7 separate regions of the Homo sapiens genome follow, and regions 1, 2, 3, 4, 5 and 6 are each linked to region 7. The links are contacts of gene promoters, found by promoter capture Hi-C in blood cells and fetal thymus (Javierre and others, 2016). All regions are on one chromosome and are shown on one strand. The core of a region is centred on a gene start or on the middle of the fragment in contact, and the rest is flanking DNA. Distances in the headings are between cores, read along the strand shown. Region 1 overlaps PTGR2 (prostaglandin reductase 2). Region 2 has its middle 3.9 kb from the start of PTGR2. Region 3 overlaps HEATR4 (HEAT repeat containing 4). Region 4 overlaps COQ6 (coenzyme Q6, monooxygenase). Region 5 overlaps ZNF410 (zinc finger protein 410). Region 6 overlaps ZNF410 (zinc finger protein 410). Region 7 holds the start of PNMA1 (PNMA family member 1).

The links. The method cuts DNA at HindIII sites, captures the fragments that hold promoters and counts their contacts. A CHiCAGO score of 5 or more calls a contact.
Region 1: a contact is called between a fragment that was not itself captured here and the fragment with the promoter of PNMA1 in region 7, in 11 of 17 cell types (M2 macrophages, activated CD4 T cells, M1 macrophages and 8 more). The highest score is 7.8, in M2 macrophages.
Region 2: a contact is called between a fragment that was not itself captured here and the fragment with the promoter of PNMA1 in region 7, in 12 of 17 cell types (non-activated CD4 T cells, total CD8 T cells, activated CD4 T cells and 9 more). The highest score is 9.8, in non-activated CD4 T cells.
Region 3: a fragment that was not itself captured here is called in contact with the fragment with the promoter of PNMA1 in region 7 in 3 of 17 cell types (M1 macrophages, erythroblasts and M0 macrophages); the score reaches 6.3 in M1 macrophages.
Region 4: a fragment that was not itself captured here is called in contact with the fragment with the promoter of PNMA1 in region 7 in 4 of 17 cell types (activated CD4 T cells, total CD8 T cells, naive CD8 T cells and 1 more); the score reaches 6.2 in activated CD4 T cells.
Region 5: a fragment that was not itself captured here is called in contact with the fragment with the promoter of PNMA1 in region 7 in 1 of 17 cell types (total CD8 T cells); the score reaches 5.1 in total CD8 T cells.
Region 6: a contact is called between a fragment that was not itself captured here and the fragment with the promoter of PNMA1 in region 7, in 4 of 17 cell types (naive CD4 T cells, total CD8 T cells, activated CD4 T cells and 1 more). The highest score is 5.9, in naive CD4 T cells.

What each region holds. Positions count from the first base shown.
Region 1 is chr14:73,878,466-73,881,629 of GRCh38, reverse strand. It overlaps PTGR2 (prostaglandin reductase 2), which reads right to left. Exons shown (of 10, transcript NM_001146154.2): 6 at 2,325-2,534; 7 at 1,454-1,575; 8 at 338-425. Among named protein-coding and RNA genes, the nearest start is that of ZNF410, 6.8 kb to the left of the region's middle. The HindIII fragment of the contact is 3,993 bases long and covers 1-3,164 here.
Region 2 is chr14:73,846,282-73,849,577 of GRCh38, reverse strand. No RefSeq gene overlaps it. Among named protein-coding and RNA genes, the nearest start is that of PTGR2, 3.9 kb to the left of the region's middle. The HindIII fragment of the contact is 406 bases long and covers 1,642-2,047 here.
Region 3 is chr14:73,496,587-73,499,654 of GRCh38, reverse strand. It overlaps HEATR4 (HEAT repeat containing 4), which reads left to right. Exons shown (of 18, transcript NM_001220484.1): 13 at 515-584; 14 at 1,311-1,500; 15 at 2,976-3,054. It also overlaps a transcript of ACOT1 not described here. Among named protein-coding and RNA genes, the nearest start is that of RIOX1, 7.2 kb to the right of the region's middle. The HindIII fragment of the contact is 282 bases long and covers 1,406-1,687 here.
Region 4 is chr14:73,958,014-73,961,187 of GRCh38, reverse strand. It overlaps COQ6 (coenzyme Q6, monooxygenase), which reads right to left. Exons shown (of 12, transcript NM_182476.3): 5 at 2,911-3,041; 6 at 2,110-2,217; 7 at 1,964-2,026; 8 at 1,666-1,773; 9 at 1-15. It also overlaps a transcript of ENTPD5 not described here. Among named protein-coding and RNA genes, the nearest start is that of COQ6, 9.3 kb to the right of the region's middle. The HindIII fragment of the contact is 1,599 bases long and covers 976-2,574 here.
Region 5 is chr14:73,919,253-73,922,284 of GRCh38, reverse strand. ZNF410 (zinc finger protein 410) reads right to left here. Exons shown (of 12, transcript NM_021188.3): 9 at 1,180-1,305; 10 at 79-219. Among named protein-coding and RNA genes, the nearest start is that of FAM161B, 29 kb to the left of the region's middle. The HindIII fragment of the contact is 1,630 bases long and covers 806-2,435 here.
Region 6 is chr14:73,896,944-73,899,822 of GRCh38, reverse strand. ZNF410 (zinc finger protein 410) reads right to left here. Exons shown (of 12, transcript NM_021188.3): 5 at 1,561-1,752. Among named protein-coding and RNA genes, the nearest start is that of ZNF410, 12 kb to the right of the region's middle. The HindIII fragment of the contact is 921 bases long and covers 876-1,796 here.
Region 7 is chr14:73,712,394-73,715,633 of GRCh38, reverse strand. It overlaps PNMA1 (PNMA family member 1), which reads left to right and starts at 1,250. Exons shown (of 1, transcript NM_006029.5): 1 at 1,250-3,240. The coding sequence starts at 1,995. The coding sequence ends at 3,056. It overlaps MIDEAS (mitotic deacetylase associated SANT domain protein), which reads left to right. Exons shown (of 13, transcript NM_001367710.1): 13 at 1-512. RefSeq lists enhancers at 785-854, 1,795-1,854 and silencers at 1,075-1,354, 1,535-1,704. The HindIII fragment of the contact is 4,676 bases long and covers 1-3,240 here.

The DNA.
Region 1 (3,164 bases), core at 127-2,626, 170 kb before region 7:
GAGAAAGCACAGCTTCTAACACATAGTAGCATCCCATAAATATTTGTTAAATTAATAAACATAATTTTACATTTGGGGGAAAACCTAATGATTTTGTAATATAATCTATGGAAAGTAAAGCTAAAAAATTTTAGATAAAGGGAATAACAAGCAAGGGTTTGTTGATCAGGAGGTTATACTCACCTGGGAGGTAGAGTTAATTTATAATATTCAGCATACTTTTCTTTTGTAGGAATTTTTATAATGAAACTAGTATGTTTGCTATAGTACATTTAAATAATGCAAAATTATATCAAGTAGCAGGAAGAATTATATTGATAAAGAATAGAAGTTCTACCTTTAGCTTTCCTTCTTTAAACCACTGACTCAGCTGTAGAATGCCAGGCTCAAATTTGTCTTTATAATTTAATACCAGAAATCTTTCCCTGCAGTGAGGAAGAAAAGGATAATGATCAGAGAATATAACGGGAGTGGTATTCCAAGATCAAACCATTCCAGAATTCTAATATCTGTTAATCCTTAAAATATTAGGACATAACACATTGAGTCTGATCAGATAGTTTTATGCATAGTTACAGGTGTAAATGTAGACTTCTATTAATAATTTTTCAAGACCAGCCTGGCCAACACGGTGAAACCCCCGTCTCTACTAAAAATACAAAAAAATTAGCCGGGCATGGTAGTGAGCGCCTGTAGTCCCAGCTACTCGGGAGGCTGAGACAGGAGAATCGCTTGAACCTGGGAGACGGTGGTTTTAGTGAGCTGCGATCGCGCCACTTTACTCCAGCCTGGGCGGCTGAGCGAGACTCCATCTCAAATAATAATAATTTTTGTCTGCCCAGTATCTACAACCCCATTTGTTAATAGCACCGTGAATTTTTCCTTTGTGGGTAGCATCCTTTCTCGACCCTCATGTGACTTAACCCAGGCCAGTCAAAGCCAATAACTATCAGTTTTCAGGTAGCTAGTTAGCCAGAACCTAAATATTGAACCAGCTTAAAAAATGTGTATTTTAAAGGTTTTTTTTTGTTTTTTTTTTTTTGTTTTTTTGAGATGGAGTTTCGTTTTCATTGCCCAGGCTGGATGGAGTGCAGTGGCATGATTTTGGCTCACTGCAACCTCCACCTCCCAGGTTCAAGTGATTCTCCTGCCTCAGCCTCCCAAGTAGCTGGGATTACAGGCGCCCATCACTACACCCGGCTAATTTTTTTGTATTTTTAGTAGAGAAGGGGTTTCACCATGTTGGCCAGGCTAGTTTTGAACTCCTGGCCTCAAGCAATCCACCCGTCTCGGCATCCCAAAGTGCTAGGATTACAGGCATAAGCCACTATGCCCGACCTAAAGTTTTATTTAATAAAGAAAAAGTGTCTATGAAGAACAATAGATTTCATACACATCTATGATATTTAAAACCCCATGAACCTGGTAATAAGGGCAAAGAGGAAGAACACACCTTGTGATGTTTCTTTCTTTCTGGATTGCCTCTATAGCAGGGGATAGCGGGGGAGGATAAGGCACATCTTTGTTGTACTGAGAAATTTGACCACACAGGATGATGTGGCTGTTCTCATTCATCTGCACAGAGAAAAATAATGATAAAATATCCCTTTCCTATGTTTACTGATTTTATGGCTGCCATAATGGAAGCCTCCTTGACTATTTAATCCTTTCTGTCAACTAGTTCGATTTTTTTTTTAATTTACCTGTTAGAGGTATTTAAGAATTTTAACTAGCTAGAAATAATTACATTCCAAAGGAACACCAAGGCAAATAAATGGTTGGTAATCAGCAAAAGAATTACATTAGTTGTTGTTGCTACTTATTAGTGGTAGAACTGTATTTTTTTGGATTTAAACAATTTAATAATCTCAACTGCAAATAATTTTAGATGCAGCAAAGGACTATGTAGTGTTAATACCTCATGTTGATATTTTATAATATTGTTAGTAAATATGCATAAATACATGCAGCCTATGAAACCCATAGGTCTGGGGCCATGGCTGTGAGTTGGTCAGTGGTGAGTTAGGGATCAGTGCTTCAGCATTTCAACAATGCAACTGTAATTTTTCACAAAAATAAACCAAAAGTGAAAAATATAATATTGGTAGCAAATAACTGAAATTGAAGTTCATAGTACAAATCTGCAAGTAAATGGAAGTAGGTATCAGCAAGCTCTTTTGTATCACTTAAATACAATACTGATCATCACATTAAGTCACAATAATCCCTCCAATTTTATAAATTTTTTTCTCAGTATTAGGTAAAAAGATATCACAACATATAAAGTGCAGTATTCAAATTTGTTATAGAAATCAGCAAACAACCTGACTTATCACTGTATCACTGATGTTACCACCAACATTGTCAAAATAAACATCCACTCCAGCTGGGCATGATTCACGGAGCTGTTCTGCCACATTGTCTTTTTTATAATTAATTGCAGCATCAAAGCCCAGTTCTGAGGTCAAGAGGATGCATTTCTCATGTGTTCCACAAATTCCCACCACTCTGGAACAACCTAAGAAATGGCCAATCTAGGGGGGAAATTTGAAGATTAAATGGCTTTATATTGTCACATTTAAATGTAAAAATGTACCAGTATACAAGATATTACAGGTATATGACAGTGTTCATTACAATTAAGGTTAGATTACGCTGCTTTTAATGAAAAGTAATTTGAAACTAAAAGAACTGAGGGCAGACAATGTCATCCTAAAAAAAAATTATTAAAATTGAACAAAGGTAGACTTATGTTCCTCAACTTATGATAGGGATATGTCCCAATAAAACCATCATTAGTTGAAAATATCCTAAGCAAAAAATGCATTTAATATACCTAACCTACTGAACATCATAGCTTAGCCTAGCCTACCTAAAACATGCTCAGAACACTTATGGCTGGGCAAAATCATCTGGCAACACAGTACACCGTAGAGTACCAGTTGTTTACCCTTATGGTCATTGTCAAAATAAACATCCACTCCAGCTGGGCATGATTCACGGAGTTGTTCAGCCACATACGGTGGCTGACCAGGAGCTACAGCTTGTTGCCGCTGCCCAGCATCTCGAGAGAGTGTCATACTGATATCGCTAGCCTGGGAAAAGACCAAAATTCAAAATTCAAAGTATGGCTTCCACTGAATGCATAGGGCTTTTGCATCACT
Region 2 (3,296 bases), core at 595-3,094, 130 kb before region 7:
AGGCCAGGTGCAGTGGCTCACACTCATAATTCCAGCACTTAGGGAGGCGAGACAGGAGGATCACTTGAGGCCAGAAGTTTCAGACCAGCCTGGGCAACATAGGAGACCCCTATCTCTACAAAAAACAAACAACAACCAAAAAAAAAAACAAAAAGAAAAAAAATAGCCAGGTGTGGTGGCACACACCTGCAGTCCCAGCAGCTACTCATGAGGCTGAGGCAGGAGGATCGCTTAAACCCAGGAATTCCAAGTTGCAGCTAGCTATGATCTCATCACTACATTCCACCCTAGGTGCCAGAGTAAGACTTTGTCTCAAAAAAAGAAAAAAAAAAAAAAAAAAAGCCAGGCACTGTGGCTCAAACCTGTAATCCCAGAACTTTGGTAGGCCAAGAGGTAGGAAGATCGATTGAGCCCAGGAGTTCAACACCAGCCTAGGCAACATGGCAAAACCCACCTCTACAAAAAATTTTAAAAATTAGCCTGGTGTGATGTGTGTGCCTGTTGTCTCAGCTGCTTGACAGACTGAGGTGTGAGGATCACTTGAGCCCAGGAGGGCGAGGCTGCAGTGAGCTGTGTTTGCACCACTGCACTCCAGCCTGGGCAACAGAATGAGATTCTGTCTCTTAAAAAAAAAAATGCATAATAAATATAAATACTTGGCCGAGCGCAGTGACTCACGCCTGTAATCCCAGCACTTTGGGAGGCTGACGTGGGCGGATCACAAGGTCAGGAGATCAAGACCATCCTGGGTAACACGGTGAAACCCCGTCTCTACTAAAAATACAAAAAAATTAGCTGAGCGTGGTGGGGGCGCCTATAGTCCCAGCTACTCAGGAGGCTGAGGCAGGAGAATGGCATGAACCCGGGATGCAGAGCTTGCAGTGAGCAGAGATTGCACCACTGCACTCCAGCCTGGGCGACAGAGCAAGACTCCATCTCAGAAATAAATAAATAAATAAAATAAATATAAATACTTAATCTAATATGTTTGTATACTCATTCATTAAATTATTTTTTAGTTTTTTCATTCATTAAATTATTTTTAAATGAAAATAACCTCGTATGATAGCAAATTACTCAGGAGAAATCATTCAAGTTTGACCAACCTGCATGGTATATGACACTTAGTGCAACATCAAAGATTATTTGATGCTAAATAAAACATTTTTCCATGGAGGTGATAATTGTTCATAATGACACAAATTCAAACCCAAACATACATCCTAAAGAGATAACAGAACAAAGTAAGAGATAAAAACCACACCTGGCTGGGCTCGGTGGCTCATGCCTGTAATCCCAGCACTTTGGGAGGCTGAGGCAGGCGGATCACATGAGGTCAGGAGTTCGAGACCAGCCTGGCCAACATGGTGAAACCCTGTCTCCACTAAAAATACAAAATACAAAAATACAAATACAAATACAAAAAATTAGCCGGGCATGGTAGCGAGCGCCTATAAACCCAGCTACTCAGGAGGCTGAGGCAAAAGAATGGCTTGAACCTGGGAGGCAGAGGTTGCAGTGAGCCCAGATCACGTCACTATACTCCAGCCTGGGTGACAGAGCAAGACTCTGTCTCAAAAAAAAAAAAAAAAAAAAAAAAAAAAAAAAAATGCTGTAACCGAATCCTGTGAAACTCAAGCTTAAATAAATGCTTTTTCAGAAAAATTGAGCATTTAGAAAAAGGTCATATTTGTGCCTATTACAAGGTGGGTTCTCTGGAAAGCAAACCCTGATGGGGAGTTTGGTATGCAGGATGTCTATTAGGGAATACCTTTTGAATCAATACCTATCGGAGGAAGAGGAAGAAAGCAGGACTGGGCAACAGGAGAAGCTGAACTCCCCGGGGAGCTTGGAACTAACATGGCCAGTCAGAGTTGTCCTCTGTTGGACCTGAATTTTCTCCCACTCCTTTTAGTTAAAGTCACTGTGGGTAATGTATCTCAAAATTGCAAAGCAAAATTTTCTCCCCTGTACCTCCTATTGGTATGACTGATCTCTTTAGGGGCTTGAATGCTATAAGCTATTTCACTGCTATTAAATAAAAGCTTATTTATTTATTTATTTACTTTAATTTTTTTTGAGATGGAGTCTTGCTTTATCACCCAGGCTGGAGTGCAGTGGCGGGATCTTGGCTCACTGCAACCTCTGCTTCCCAGGTTCAAGTGATTCTCCTGCCTCAGCCTCCCAAGTAGCTGGGACTACAGGCACCCACCACCATGCCTGTATTTTTGTATTTTTAGTAGATACGGGGTTTTACCATGTTGGCCAGGCTGGTCTTGAACTCCTGACCTCAAGTGATCCACCTGCCTCAGCCTCCTAAAGTGTTTGGATTACAGGCATGAGCCACTGCACCCGGCTATATTTCTTCCTCCACTTCTGCCAGTAAAATTTAGCTCCACTAGCCTACATTTTACATATAATGCTGACTAATGAAATCCAGAGCCTGACCTTAAAAATGCTAAGTCTTCAAAATTAACAAAAAGAGTCCCAGAAAGAGATGAATGAGATTTCTTCTCTCCCCTGCAGTTACTGATGAAGAGCGACATTTCTGTATCATAAAATCATTTCAAAGACTCTAACCGTATAAGGTGTTAAATTAAGAACATTTATATGATTACCAAGTTGTATGGATATTTATAAATGTGATCAACATGTTTTTGTTCCCCATTAATGTATCTGTCCTTTGAAGTACAATTTCAGAAAAGAGAGCTTGAAAACTCTTAGAGGTTTAGAAATTCTTGCATGCCAAGTGAAAATAACCTTGAAAGAAAAACTTTTGAAGATTGGCTGTTGTATCGTTATCTATTGCTACAAACAAATTACCCCCAAAACTTAGTGGTTTAAAACAATGAACTTTTCCGTGGCTCACGCTTGTAATCCCAGCACTTTCTGGGGGCCAAAGTGGGTGGATCACGAGGTCAGGAGTTCGAGACCAGCCTGGCCAACACAGTGAAACCCCGTCTCTACTAAAAATACAAAAATTAGCTGGGTGTGGTGCCGGGCGCCTGTAATCCCAGCTACTCAGGAGGCTGAGGAAGGAGAATCACTTGAACCCAGGAGTCAGAGGTTGCAGTGAGCCAAGATTGTGCCACTGCACTCCAGCCTGGGTGACAGAGCTAGACTCCATCTCAAAAAACAAACAAACAAACAAACAAAAACTATGAACTTTTATTGTATTATCTCAGAGTTTTGAAGGATCAGGAAGCCATGCACAGTTTAGCTGGGTGATTCTGGCTCAAGGTCTCTGTAATCAAGCTGCCAGTCTGGGCTGGGCTGTGGTCTCATAAGAAGACTCA
Region 3 (3,068 bases), core at 297-2,796, 220 kb after region 7:
AATAGCAGATAATTCAGCTAATGTACTCACTATGCATATAGGTTGGTACTTTAGGCTCCAGCTCATTTGTCACCAGAATTGATAGGTCATTTTTCAATTATAGCTCCTTTTAGAGATAAGTGGTTTCCCTGTTTCTGATTCATTCTTTTGCTTTGTTTTGTTTTTTTGCTTTTTTGAGATGGAGACTCGCTCTGTCACCCAGGCTGGAGTACAGTGGCACGATCTCAGCTCACTACAACCTCCGCCTCCCAGGTCCAAGCAATTCTCCTACCTCAGCCTCCGAGTAGCTGGGATTACAGGCGTGTGACACCATGCCCGGCTAATTTTTGTATTTTTAGTAGAGACAGGGTTTCACCATGTTGGCCAGGCTGGTCTCAAACTCCTGATGTCAAGTGATCCGCCCACCTTGGCATCCCAAAATGCTGGGATTACAGGGGTGCACCACCGCACCCAGCTGTTTCTGGTTCATTCTTGCTCTGGTCCTCCCCACTCAACACTGCCTTTTCCATCCCAGGTGCTTGAATGCCTCCTGAACCTGATGCAGAGAGATCCTTACTGGAAAATCAAGGCCTTTGCCATTCGAGGTATTATAGAAGTAGTGCCCCAAACTCTTCAACCTTAAATACCTTTGCCTATGCAAGTAGAAATGATCCCCTGAAACTCTCTAATGGGGTGAAGTGCAGGAGAGGTAATGATCTTAGCTTTTCAGAAGTTCCTTGTCTGAAAAGAGAAAGATAATTTTCTTCAATTTTTAGTGAAAGATCCTGAGTCTAGGTATATGTCAAACTTAAGTTAAAGAAAGGGCTGACAAGACAGTCCCTGCCAACAGAATTAAGGATAAGTTCCAAGTAGGTATCCAGTGCTGGATGCATCTTGCTTTCCTTGGAGATCTCAACTATTACGCTCTGCAAAAGTCAGATCAGTTTCAAGACTGCTACAGACCTAAAACCCTGCCCCTTAATCTGCCTAGTTTCTTTTTAGAATCTTTGGCATTGCTTCTCTTTTTGACATAGATAAATAATTGTGCCTCCTTTCCCCATCACCCTGCTGGGACTAGGCAGGTCTTCCATGTTATTTGTTCTATATTTCATCCCAAAATAGGCAAATATCCTAACAGGCAAGGATGGGATGGAACATCCCTCTTCTAGGAATCCTTTGGAGGTAATGTCCCATTCTGACCTATCCCTAAAATTCTAATGGTGATTACCATCCAAAAGGGAAGGTATTGTTTGCAAAACTCAATTTATTTCTGGATGCTAGAATATAGTAAGCTCAGTCTTCAGTGACATGCTGCCCTCTAATCTCTGCAGCTTTGGGACAGATTGGGCAAGTAAGTCCCGAGCTGACGGATCTTCTGCTCTGGGCTATCCACTATGAAGAGTCACCAGGTGTACGGCTGGAAGCTTGCCGTAGCATCCTAGCCCTGAAACTTCAAGGGGACCGGGTCAGGGACACCTTCCTAGACGTGCTGCTCCTGGAGAACCACGATGCTGTTCTAAAGTAAGCACTAAACCTCTGGCTCCCACCATGACCTTATACTGCCAACTCTCACATCTTTGCTCATTGAATATGTCCCTGCCTTTCCAGGCTACCTAATGGCAGTAAAAGCACTGGTTCACCTGCACATTCACCACTCACCCAAGTAGGTAACTGAAAAACTGGCCTAAATTAGATTGAAAGTCAAGCTTATGTAGTTCATGCATCTTTTCTCCCCACCAGGATGGGTTTTGGCCGGGTGTGATGACTCACGCCTGTAATCCCAGCACTTTGGGAGGCTGAGGCAGGAGGATCACCTGAGGTCGGGAGTTTGAGACCAGCCTGACCAAAATGGAGAAACCCTGTCTCTACTAAAAATACAAAATTAGCCAGGCATGGTGGCACATGCCTGTAATCCCAGCTACTAGGGAGGCTGAGGCAGGAGAATCACTTGAACCTGGGAAGTGGAGGTTGCGGTGAGCCGAGATGGTGCCATTGCACTCCAGCCTGGGCAACAAGAGCAAAACTCCGTCTCAAAAAAAAAAAGGATGGGTTTTAAGTTATTCATATATTCAACTAACATTTATCAAATGCCTATTGGGACAACAAGTTTTAGAGTCAAAAAGACCAGGGTTTGAATTCCAGCTCTGGCATGCAATAGCTATGTGAGCCCGTGTAAGGTATTTAAACTCTGTGAGCCCATTTTTTTCATGTATCAAATGCAGGTGATAGTCTACATTATAGGGTTGTGGTGATAATTAATGAGATGACATGTTTAGCGCCTGTCATAAAGGTGTTCAGTAAATGGTACCTATTGGCACCTTCAAATATATTGTCTTGGCCAGATGAGGTGGCTCACATCTGTAATCCCAACACTTTGGGAGGCTGAGGCAGATGGATCACCTGAGGTCAGGAGTTCTAGACCAGCCTGGCCAACATGGTGAAACCTGTCTCTACTAAAAATACAAAAATTAGACGGGCATGGCCGGGTGCAGTGGCTCACACCTGTAGCCCCAACACTTTGGGAGGCCAAGGCGGGTGGATCACCTGAGGTCAGGAGTTCTAGACCAGCCTGGCCAACATGGTGAAACCCCATCTCTACTAAAAATACAAAAACTAGCTGGGCATGATGGCACGCGCCTGTAGTCCCAGCAACTCAGGAGGCTGAGGCAGGAGAATCGCTTGAACCTGGGAGGTGGAGGTTGCAGTGAGCCGAGACGAGATCGTGCCATTGCACTCCAGCTCTGGGAAACAGAGCAAGACTCCATCTCGCAAAAACAAAAAGTAAACAAAAAACCCACAAATATATTGTCTCAAAAACTGCACATTATTCCTGTAAGCTAAGCATTATACCATTTTTGCATATAAGGCTCAGCAAAACTGCACAGTTAGGATTGGAACTTGGGATTCTTACCTGATTCCAAGTCCTATATTTTCTACCCCCATACTTTTTTAAAGGGCAGGGTAGAATAATCTAAGAAGCCCTTCTTATCTTTCAGAGAAATGTACCAGACAATGAAGATACTCAACTTAGGAAATGAAGGAAACCAAGAAATGCTTCAGGAGATCAAGAACAGGGTAAATAAGTGCAA
Region 4 (3,174 bases), core at 526-3,025, 250 kb before region 7:
GTCAGCATCACTCCACTGAGCAGCATCAGCCACAAGACAAACAAGGTGAAATGTGAGTAGCAGGGAATTAAAAATTCAATAAAGAAACCTTGTTTGTAACCAAAGCTTAGGCTAATGCTACCCAACTTGCCTACACTGATCTTGACAAGTGATAAGCCCCTCAAGTGCAAAGCAACTTCTCATCACTCCCCAGAGGTTTTAAGATCTAGCCAAACTGTACATGAGCTGGCCCCTGCCTACTTCTGAGCTTCACCTTTCACTAGTCCCCACCCTCAATAACCACGCACCAGCCACAGTATAGCTCATCACACAGTATCCTTCTACCTCCATGACTCTCCTCTGCTTAGAATGCCCGTCTCTATTTCATTAGGATAACATCTCAGAGCATCCAGAAGACGTCGCCTCTTTTTAACTCCTCCAGTCTTTCTCTGTGTTTCCCCCCTGTATGCTTCCACAGCATCCTATGCATACTTCTATCACTGTACGGAGATTGTCATTTACGGTCTTCCTTACTTGACTATGAACTTCCTGAAAGCGGAGACTGTTCTCAGTATCTCCAGAGCCTGCTACATAGAAAGGACAATTAATGGTGAATGACTGCACTGCAGAGGACCTAGACCTGTGCCAGGAATATATACTAAATGGCCCAGAGTAGGGTAGTGTTCACCATTTATCTCGGAATCCATTTCAGTATGTTCAGTTCCCTTTATTCTTGTTGCTACTACAGAGCAGTGGAGTCTTTGGTGTGAAGGTAGCAGGCTTTGAGTGTCATTTAGGCTCCAAAAGTAATACTGGTACCCATATTATCCAAAGGCTGTGTCTACTCCAGAATTATTAGTATTTGTTGAGCACCTACAATGTACTAAAGATGTTCCATGGATTTTACAAAAGTTCTCTCATTTTGAAAGTCTTTATTCAATCCTGAGCAGTTAGTGATACTATTTACATTTTGAACCCACATCTATCTACTAAGCTTACTCTTAAGCCCCATGCTGAAATTCGCTCGGCCTTTCCCTAGGAATACTTTCAATGAATCAGGCTTGAAAGGTTCAGGTAGCTGCAACCTAGCAGAACTGTTCAAAATAATCCAAGTGTTACAGCTTCAAAAAAAGGCCAATGCTAACCACCACCCAGGCAGCTGTTTCAGTCAGCCTAACAGCAGCCCACAACCCTCAAAAGGTTATTATTTATTATTTCTATTGTTTTGCATTTCCGTGTGTACACTCCTCCACATAATCTAGACCAAGCATTATAGTTACAAAGTAGAAAGGGACAGCTGACTGGTTACTCCTTTTTCCTGACTCAAAACCACCTTTCTGGCTGGGTGCAGTGGCTCACGCCTGTAATCCCAGCACTTTGGGAGGCCAAGGCAGGCAGATCACTTGAGGTCAGGAGTTTGAGACCAGCCTGGCCAACATGGTGAAACCTCATCTCTACTAAAAATAGAAAAATTAGCTGGGCATGGTGGCACGTGCCTGTAGTCCCAGCTACTTAGGAGGCTGAGGCAGGAGAATCGCTTGAACCCGGGAGGCGGAGATTGCACAGTGAGCCAAGATCGCGCCACTGCGCTCCAGCCTGGCAAGGATCCGTTTCAAAAAAAAAAAAACAACACCTTTCTGTATCTCCCCCTGCAGCACATCATCAGCTGGGTAAATTGATACTCACAAAGGCAGAGTTAACGGCATCCACAAATTTTTCCTCATCCATGCTAACTAGCTCTGCTGCATGTTCATGGGACGTGGACCAAACCAAGGAACTCAAGGTGTCTGAGAGCTGTGTCAAAAGAACACCAATACCAACGGCTAAGACTCTGCTGCACTTGGAAACTCTCAAGCATAAAAAGACAAAAAGGGAACTTACAAACAGCCTGGGCAGATTCCCTTGAAACCAGAAAAAGGCTGAGAGAAAGTGAAGAGGAAAGGCTTGCATGCATGTGGGCGGACTGGTCAGAAGGACCTCTTACCGGGAGCAGAGCAATAGGCCCAGAGGGAAGAAATCTCTGCCAGGCTACGTTGTTTTCTGTGGCCTGCAACAGAGAGGAGAAAAGTTTCTCTGTGAAGTACCTAGTGCCTATGAATAAAGTCCCCAGATGGCAGCTCAGGATCTTACCTCTGATAAATGCAGAGTAGCCACAACAGCAGACTGGTCATAGTTCCAGCTCACATTCTGGATTCCAACAGCCTGCCGTACTCCGGAGTTGTGACCATCTGCACCTATCTGCATGGACACATGAGCCTGCTAAGTCTTCCAGCCTCTTCATAAACTGCTTCAGAAGTTTTTCTCTGCTCCCTAAAGTTTCCTCCAGCTCTGATTGTTGTGTGGCAGGATAATTCCATCAGGCCTGCTTCACTCACAGCCCCTAGAGGTGGAGCCCCTGCACTGTCACATCAGCCTCAGCCAACAGAGCCAAAGCTGGACATGACTGAACAGGTGCCAGCCATGAGTTAAACTCAGCCAGGCCCTCCTGATATTTGAACTAGAGAGCAATAAGGAAAGTTTCAGTATGGGGCACACACTGGAGCTGAATAGTTCTGATGTAGGGTTAGGAATGGCTACCATGCAAAAAGGGAAGCTTGTGAGCAGAAAGGAGAAAAATGAGAGGCAAGAGATCAATGACCACAGACTCCTCAGAGGGAAAGAACAGCCTCCATTCCCAACACTCTGGTGCCTGTCCTGTGAGGCCCAGCTATCTGTTATTTCACAACCTAAGACGGCCCATGAGATTGCTCCCTGTACAGGATTTACGATGAGACCATCTCCACTTGAGCTGGCCTGAATAGGTACTGGTCCTCATAACCAAAAGTTTTGCCTAAAATTAAACTATAGCTTAAATCGAAAACCAGAGTCCCTAGAATCTAGGATAAGATGTAGATATACAAGACCCCTAGCAAAATAAGAATCTTCAACTACCAACAATTTGGTCTGGAAGGTGCTGCCATCACCTAGGGTAATATGAACCCAAGGGCTGGAGTCGGCCATAGGAAATGGACAAGGCCAGGTATAGCGAATGGCTTTGCTCCTGTAGAGAACCGTCACTCGGTCTGGGGAGGTCAAAAGAGAGGAAAAAAAATTAGAAAGGTGGGCCACATAGGCTGAGGAAAAAGCCATAACTAAACCTAAAGCAAGGTCCCAGGACAGCAGTGTCTTGTCATTTAAGATTAAAAAAATCAGTAA
Region 5 (3,032 bases), core at 371-2,870, 210 kb before region 7:
ACATTGTGGAGACACCCCATTCCTTAGCCCCTAGTTGCAGCCCATTTTTCCCAAATAAAGGAGAGTTGGAAGTCTTACCATCATCAACTCCCAGGATAGAATTGGTATTTGGTAGGTTCAAGGACTCTCCACCAAGGCTGGGCTGGGAATTCATAGACACCAGGTTTTTACTGGGTACTGAAGCCTCTTCAAGCAAACTACTGCCCATTAGTGGCTCAGCTGCACAGAGAATAGGTTGTGAGAGACATACAGCAATCAAGGCTGTGCCTGGTCCTCATTTTCTTTCAACAGAAGCTGGCCTTCTCTTTCATTACTAGAAGTTAACCTATAGATGGGATGCCACCCCCTATTTCACCTACTTTCGAGAAACAAGAATAAACCTAGAAGGGAAAGAGTAAGCCTTAGAAGATAATGATCCTTGCTTGTGTTCAGCGTCTGAAGAATTAGCATATGAAACAGGATAGGTGGATCTTTAGAAAGGAATATTTGGAATAATTAAGGAAAGATATGGCGAAGGAATAAGAATTAAAAAGAGTTATCAAATTTCAGGCAGGGCAAAAAGGTAGTCATGACTGGTAAATAAAATATGCTTCCAGCCTGGCCAACATGGTGAAACCCCGTCTCTACAAAAATATAAAAATCAGCCAGGTGTGGTGGCACCTGCCTATAATCCCAGCTACTCAAGAGGCTGAGGCAGGAAAACTGCTTGAACCCAGGAGGCAGAGGTTGCAGTGAGTCGAGATGGCGCCACTGCACTCCAGCCTGGGTGACAAAGCAAGACTCCATCTAAAAAAATTAAAAAGCTTAAACTCTTCCCATGTGGAAATCTTTTATCACTGTGTTACTCAAATGCTTGTTCATGGATCAGCACTAGTTACCATCAAACTCACTAGGGAAACTTTTAAAACTACAGATTCTAGGATCTTGCAAATTATCTCATTTATCAGATTGCTTTGTTTTATTGGTGGGCGGACAAGCAACAAAAAGTATATAAATTTTAAAAGGTTGCAGATGATTCTACTGTATAGCTATGTTTGGAAACCATCAGCCCATCAAATGAGACCAGGTCTATCTACCCAAAACAGAATCAGAAAATTTCCAGATAAGCAGGCAGGACAGTGATTTGGCTCTTGGAACCCTAGAAGTAGTACAGCGTTCCACTATGCCCACCCTCCTCACCAGTTTGCTCCTGCTCTTGACTCCCAGCTGCTCCCAGCTGCAGGTGATGCTTTCTCATATGCACATTCCTGCTTCCACTCTGAGAGAAGGTCTTCCCACAGACTTGGCACTGATGAGGCTTCTCTCCTGAAACAGGGACCAGGTTAAACAAGGAAGCCAAAAGGACAGGAAGAGAATGAACTCAAGACCTAGATGGAGAAACCCAGAGAATGTTAAACTGAACATAAGCAGCTGCTCCTTTTCCCATTCCGCACCTTCCCAGCCTCTCAAACTTCAGTATATGGGGGAAGGCAGGAAGAGTACACCAGGAGGGCTTTAGCACACTCCCTGCTCCCAGCTGCTGGTCCTTTCCAGACCTTCTGTAATGCTGCCTTCACAAAACCTCTTTGGTATAGGACCATGGCAACCACAAAAAATATGCCTTCTTTTTCAGTTAGTCTTCCATGGACCTCTAGGACATGTGCTTTCCTCAAGGATTTCAATCCTGTGTTCCTAATATCCCCTTGTCATATTCCCTGCCACCCTCTTTAGGGTCATCAACATTCACACTGGTGGCTCTTACAACATAATAATCTAAATTGTCCTCTATGTCTTCAAGTCCCAAACTCTCCGTCTCCATTCTACCTACCCAGAAAACCATACTTAGAGCAGGGGTCAAAAACTCATGTCTATAGGAGACTGATAGGTAGCAAAAGTAAGTAAAATGGCCAAGTGGGGGCTGCAGTAACCTAGAGAGTACCTAGAAAAGGGGCAGCTGTTATTCAGCTCTAGCCAACTGTTGCCATGGGTAGATTAAGGCAGATTCTCTGATTTTTTTTTAAGACACTGGAAATAAGGATTTTTAAGTAGAATCTCCCAATTTCTAAATGCTAGGAACAAATTCACAATTGACAAACACATGGTACAGCAATCATCATTGCTGATTGTATTTTGCTGGGAATGCAAAATACAAAAACCTCTTTGGGGGAATCTGACCAGATCTAGAAAAATTGTAGATGCACTTGCCCTTTGACCTAGGAATCCCACTTCTAGGAATATGTCCCAAAATTACAGCAGCAAAATGTGAAATACTCTGTGCACAAGGTTATTCATCACGGCAACATTATTTTAAATGGCTAAATACTGGAAACAACGTAAATATTCATCACAGAGACTGACTAAAAAGCTATAGATACTGCAGTAGTCCTGCATAGCAAAAAAAAAAAAAAAAAAAAAAAAACCTATACAATAGAAACAGGGTGGAATATTACAAAGCTTAGAACTAAAAACTGAATCACCATTTGAACCAGCAATCCCATTACTGGCTATCTACCCAAAGGAAAATAAACTGCTCTACCAAAAAGACACTTGCCCTCACATGTTCAATGCAGCACTATTCACAACAGCAAAGACATGGAATCAACCCAGGTGCCCATCAATGGTAAATACGATACAGAAAATGTGGCACATACACACCATGAAATACTATGCAGCCATAAAAAAGAACAAAATCATGTCCTCTGCAGCAACATGGATGCAGCTGGAGGCCATTATCTTAAGCAAATTAACACAGAAACAGAAAATCAAACACCATGTTCTCACTTATAAGCGGGAGCTAAACACTGGGTACTTATGGACACAAAGATGGGAACAATAAACACTGGGGATTCCAAAAGCGGCTACGGGGCAAGGGCTGAAAAACTACCTATCAGGTACTATGTTCACTGCTTGGTCAACAGGGTCATTAGTAGCCCAAACTTCAGCATCTTGGAATATACCCTTGTAACAAACCTGCACATGTACCCCCTGAATCTAAAATAAATTTATTTTAGCCAGGTGCAGTGGTTCACACATGTAATCCCAGCACTTTGGGA
Region 6 (2,879 bases), core at 87-2,586, 180 kb before region 7:
GCTTTGCTGATTATAACATTTCCCAGATAGAATGTTACATAATCTCCATAACAAGCCAGTCAGGAAAGCTGCCTGATCTCTATGTTCAGATCGTAAGAAAATTGAAGCTAAGGGAGGTTAAACTGCCCAAGGCAGGGAACCAGTAAATGATGGTGCCAGGCCTGGATCCCAGGGCTCCCAGATTCTAAATTGCAAGCTCCCCTCCCTACGCTGCTTCTCATTGGCAAATATGACACTATTTCTTCAATGTAAGAGGAAATGCTGAAGGTTTCAGCATCTGGAGATTGGCACATATATCTCAGGAAGAATCTGAACTTTAAGGGTCCCACCAAAATGTTAAAATGAACCATTCTAAGTAGCACTATGGTAGTCATAAACAGAACTAAGTATTTTGAAAACAAACAGTTTAGAGTTTGGCTGGGGATGGTTGCTCACACCTAAAATCCCAGCACTTAGGGAGCCAGAGGCAGGAGGAGACCCTGAGTCCAGGAGTTTGAGACCTGTCTGGCAACAGAGCAAAACCTCATTCTCCATAAAAAGGGAAAAAAAAAGACCAAAAAAAAAAAAGATTTAATGTTTCAAAATATTCATAGGGAACTCTAGTTCTCTATGAGAAATTTTAACTTTTTATTTTCATTTGAATGGTAATCAAAAAATAATAATAAGCATATACTAGATAATCTGCATAAACTCCAAACAACTGTGTACTAAGTGCTTAAGCTTAGTTTGTGATAATGATAGCATTAAACCATGTTGTATTGAGTTGTGTCACATGTTAATGAGAAAACACAGAGGCAGACCTAAAAAAGTATCCATGACATGCTACATAAGCAAAGATTCTGCAGTGGTCTGAATAGAGCCGTGGTTCTCAAGCTTTAACATGTATCAGAACCAAGTTTTTGACTCAGTAGGTCTGGCATGGGCCTGAGAGTTTATATTTCTCAGTTCCCACGTGACGTCAATGATCCAGTGACAATGCTTTGAAAATTACTAGAACAGAGAAAAGTGACACAGAGTAAGTAGTATAGGCATGCTGAACTGAAAAGAAAAAGCATTAAAACCATCATAGCTAATTGTTAAACTGCCATGAGCAGCAATTTAGTTTCAGCAAAACATAATCCTCTGCCACAATGACTTAATGTTATTTTTATTTTCATGGATTTGGTAGTTTTATTCCTATTAACTGATAAAAACTGTTTTGATTTCATGATGGTATAAGAGCTCTAAGTATATGAAGTTTACACAGAATTTATGTTTTTGCATATTTAAGAGACATTACAATAAAAACAATTCAAACCCCAGGATGTATATTATTTTTTCTTTAAAAGGGGCTCTGTACATTATTTAAAGTTGAGAATTCAGAATACTAGTTGGTTTTGAACACAAATCTGGCATGACCAAGTTATTTTATAGAAAATAAAATTTAAACAATTTACAGATTTCTAGCCTTCTGCTCTCATCAATAGAATAATTTAAATTATATACAACTCAAACCAGCCACTGCATTACCAAAATCTCTTTGCACAGAATAGTGGCAAGGAAAATGCCGACGGGCCTCACCATTGCTGCTGGTTTTTGCATTCTTTGCCAGTTGTGCACGAGTAGCAGCAATCAAACTGTCATGGGCCAACTCCTGAACCCGGAGGAACCATGGAATGCTACTGTCTGTGCTCTCACTGGAGAGGAAATCATTCCCTGAATCTTCTGCCTCATCCTGTACAAACACTAAGTGCTCAGCTGAAGAGCCCAGACCTGGAAGAAACAAAATATATGAAAAGTTAGAAACCAAGCAAGCTTTTTATTTGCCCTGGCTCAGAGACTCTCCATGTCCCTTTTTTTTTTTTTTTTTTTGAGACGGCGTCTCGCTCTGTCACCCAGGCTGGAGTGCAGTGGCGCAATCTCGGCTTACTGCAACCTCCGCTTCCCAGGTTCAAGTGATTCTCCTGCCTCAGCCTCCTGAGTAGCTGGGATTACAGGCATGCACCACCACGCCCGGCTAATTTTTGTATTTTTAGTAGAGACGGGGTTTCACCATGTTGGTCAGGCTGGTCTTGAACTCCTGACCTCGTGATTCGCCCACGTCGGCCTCCCAAAGTACTGGGATTACAGGCGTGAGCCACTGCGCCTGGCCCAGAAACTCTCCATGTCCTAAATAAGCTATTCCTGACCTTCGCCTTTTACCTCAAACTTCTCACTGAAGAGCAGGCTATCATCTTTCTACCTTTAGTCTACAGGCTTGTCATTACCTTGCCTCCTCTGGTTTCAAGGCAAAGCTGTCTTTCTTGGTCAACCAGACTAATCCCCACCTACTGTATTTCATTCTCATTCTTCAATTATCCCCCCATATATACTTGTGTTATCTCCTCTCTCCTATCTGCAACTAGTTCCTCTCTATCGGCCAGCATTTCCTTATGTCTTTAAATATGTCCTAACTCAAGTCTCTCACCCTTATTTTTAAAAAGAATTAGAAAACCCCAAGTACTTCTCTAGCTATTTACCTTCTTCCCTGTTCCTTTAAAGTCAAGCTTCTTGAACAAGTGTACCTTCTAACTTGTGTATCTATTGTCTTACCTCCCATCCACTCCCCATCTCTTTAACCCTGGCCTCTACCTCAGCTACCACAGTAACAATTGCTCTTGCTAGGGTCACCAGACACACACTTCTTCTCACTAATAAGCCCATCATGTAGTATTTGGCATGATTTAGTATCTTTTCTGCCTTAAAACTTCTTCCTCCCTTGGCTTCCCTGCTACCACTCTCTCCCAGTTCTCTTCATCCCCTTCCAGCTGCTCCTTCCTGTTCTGTTGTCCTCTTAAATGTTTTTTCCCAGGGTCCCAGACTTGCCTTCTTTTCTGTTTATGCTTGAGACTTCTCTAGAA
Region 7 (3,240 bases), core at 1-2,500:
TTTACAGGAAGTAGGGATATTTTTATAAAACAATTGTGTCCTCCCCACATTTTGCTATGTTAATATTTGCTTCTAACAATTTGCAGCTGTTTCACTTTTTCCTCATTTGTCTCTAAGTTGAAGGCTTTGTTGGAGGGGACAGAGCACAGGAACAGCCTTGACAGTCTGTAATTATTGTACAGATATTTTAATAGCATATAAATAAGTATATTCCTTTTATTTTGAAACAAAAATGATCAGACACTGCCTTTTGTGTGTTTGCTGCCTGTGGCATCCTTTTTTAAAAAGACTGTTACATATTAAAATAGTGTACATATATAAATATTACCTCTTTTGCTGTACAGTTGTGATAGAGACTGAAGATTTTATTTTTTGTGTGCTTTTTATAAGAAAAAAATTAATACACTAAAGAATCTTGCTGATGTGATTGTAATGTACCTATGTAACTTATTTACTTTTGAATGTTCTTCTGTATCTTTAAACCTTTTATTAAATAAGGTTTTAAAAATTCAGAGTTGAATGCTTTGTTCTCTTGGGATTTTCACCATCTGGGGTTGATGTAAGTGCGCCTTGTCTTGCTTGCAGGGAGATTACTCGACATTTTTGAACCATAAGGATTCTCTTTTAGCAGCCTATTGTCAATGATGCCAGCCAGGAAAAGGAAAATAATACACTAATGTTTGCCTGGCTAAAAGATGACTCAGTAGACACAGACAGATTTTTACAAAATTTTAGACAAGAAAAAGTCTAAACTCAGTGTCTCACACAAATACACAGAAATGGCGCACTCCGACATTTTGGCTTCATTGGGATGAAATATGCAGGGTGCACAGTGTGGTCAGGGGCAACGGGAAGCCAGGGTTCTGAGGAGAGTATTTTCACGTGCAGGGTGGACTGGCTGAGCAACCCGAGTAGACAAGTCCACCATGAGGGATGCATTTCCAACAATATCATCTTAAATCCACTCCAGGATTGGGTTATTATTTTTAAAACACGGTGCTTAGTAGTAGTTGTTTACTGTTAAAATGCTAAATTATGAAAAAGGAAATGCGCCATCAGAGAAACAAATGCCCGAGCCCCTCGCTGGCTCCACGGCAACCGCTCGACCCCCGCGAGCCGCCGGAGCAGGCGTGCCTCGCGCCGGCTGGGACACCGTTGCCATGGAGACGCCCGAGCAGCTCCGCCGCGGGGGCGGGACGGGGCGGGGCGGGGCGGACGCCGCTCGCCGGCTGGCCCCATCCTCCACTGCAGCAGTAACGTCGCGGCGGGTTGCGGGTAGGACTGGACGCCAGAGCAGCCGCGCAGCGCCTGAACCGCTGCGGGCCGCCGCGGCCGCCCCTTCCCACCCTCGCCTCTGCTGTCTCCAGCCTCGCTTCTCCGACTTTCCTGCTCCTCTGCTGCCTTCGTTTCTGGTCCTCGGCCGTCCTCGCCGCCCGCCCAGAGGAGTCCCCGCGCCCGCCAAGAAGCCGCTTTCCGCTGGCCCGCAGCCGCCGCGACTTCGGCACAGTTTCTCCCTCTGGCTAGTCTCCCAAACGGCCGCTCCTCGCCCGCGGGAAGACCAGGCTGCGACCGCGAACGCCCGATCCTCTCCAGGAGCCGCAGCGAGCGCCCGGCGGCCACGCCCCGCGACCACACCCCGGCGGCTCTCGGCCCAGCGCGCCTGCCTTCGCCGCCCGCCGTCGCTCCTCGCCCGCTGCACGACGACGCGACGCCCCTGCTGCAGGCGGCGGACCCGACCGGACCCAGACCCAGACGCAAGATGGCGACGGCCGCGTGACTGCCTCAGCGTCCCCGAGCTCGGCTCCGAGTGCACCTACGGACTGACTGTGGGGGCAGAGAAGGGCGAGATCAGGACTCTGTCTTTGTTAATCGTGACTGCATGAAGGTCGCCTCCCTCGGGCCTACTTGGTGGGAGTGTCTGGTATTGTTCTAAGGCCAGGAGCACGGTGAGCCACAGTCTGTTGGTAGAATTTGGCGTCTTGATAGTTGAGAAAATGGCGATGACACTGTTGGAAGACTGGTGCCGGGGGATGGATGTGAACTCCCAGAGAGCTCTGTTAGTCTGGGGCATCCCAGTGAACTGTGATGAGGCTGAAATCGAAGAGACCCTCCAGGCTGCGATGCCCCAGGTCTCCTACCGAATGCTTGGGAGAATGTTCTGGAGGGAAGAAAATGCGAAAGCAGCCTTATTAGAGCTCACTGGCGCTGTAGATTACGCCGCGATCCCCAGGGAGATGCCGGGCAAAGGAGGGGTCTGGAAAGTGTTATTTAAGCCCCCAACTTCTGATGCTGAATTTTTAGAAAGATTGCACCTCTTCCTAGCTAGAGAGGGGTGGACCGTGCAAGATGTTGCCCGTGTCCTTGGGTTTCAGAACCCTACTCCGACCCCGGGCCCAGAGATGCCAGCAGAGATGCTAAACTATATTTTGGATAATGTTATTCAGCCTCTTGTTGAGTCCATATGGTACAAGAGGCTGACACTTTTCTCGGGGAGGGACATCCCAGGGCCTGGAGAGGAAACCTTTGATCCCTGGCTGGAGCACACTAATGAGGTCCTAGAGGAGTGGCAGGTGTCCGATGTAGAAAAGAGGCGGCGGTTGATGGAGAGTCTTAGAGGCCCCGCCGCTGATGTTATTCGCATCCTTAAGTCCAACAACCCCGCGATAACCACTGCCGAATGCCTGAAGGCGCTTGAGCAGGTGTTTGGGAGCGTTGAGAGCTCTAGGGATGCCCAGATCAAATTTCTGAACACTTATCAGAACCCGGGAGAAAAATTGTCTGCTTATGTCATTCGTCTGGAGCCTCTGCTACAGAAGGTGGTAGAGAAGGGGGCCATTGATAAAGATAATGTGAACCAGGCCCGCCTAGAGCAGGTCATTGCCGGGGCCAACCACAGCGGGGCCATCCGAAGGCAGCTGTGGCTTACCGGGGCTGGGGAAGGGCCAGCCCCAAACCTCTTTCAGTTGCTGGTGCAGATCCGTGAGGAGGAAGCCAAGGAGGAGGAGGAGGAGGCTGAGGCCACCCTTCTGCAGTTAGGCCTGGAAGGGCACTTCTGAGTGCCAGGAAAGGCAGCTTTAGTGCAGACCTAGATCACAGCTACTTTTCTTGTCCCTGTGGGGTCTTACAGATGTGTCTCTGAGTAGTAAAGGCTTAGCCTTGTTCTGTTTTGTTGTTTTTTGGAGGGGAAGGTTAGTCAGGCCTGAGTATTCATGTAACATTCTAAAATTGTGCCAGCGAGCA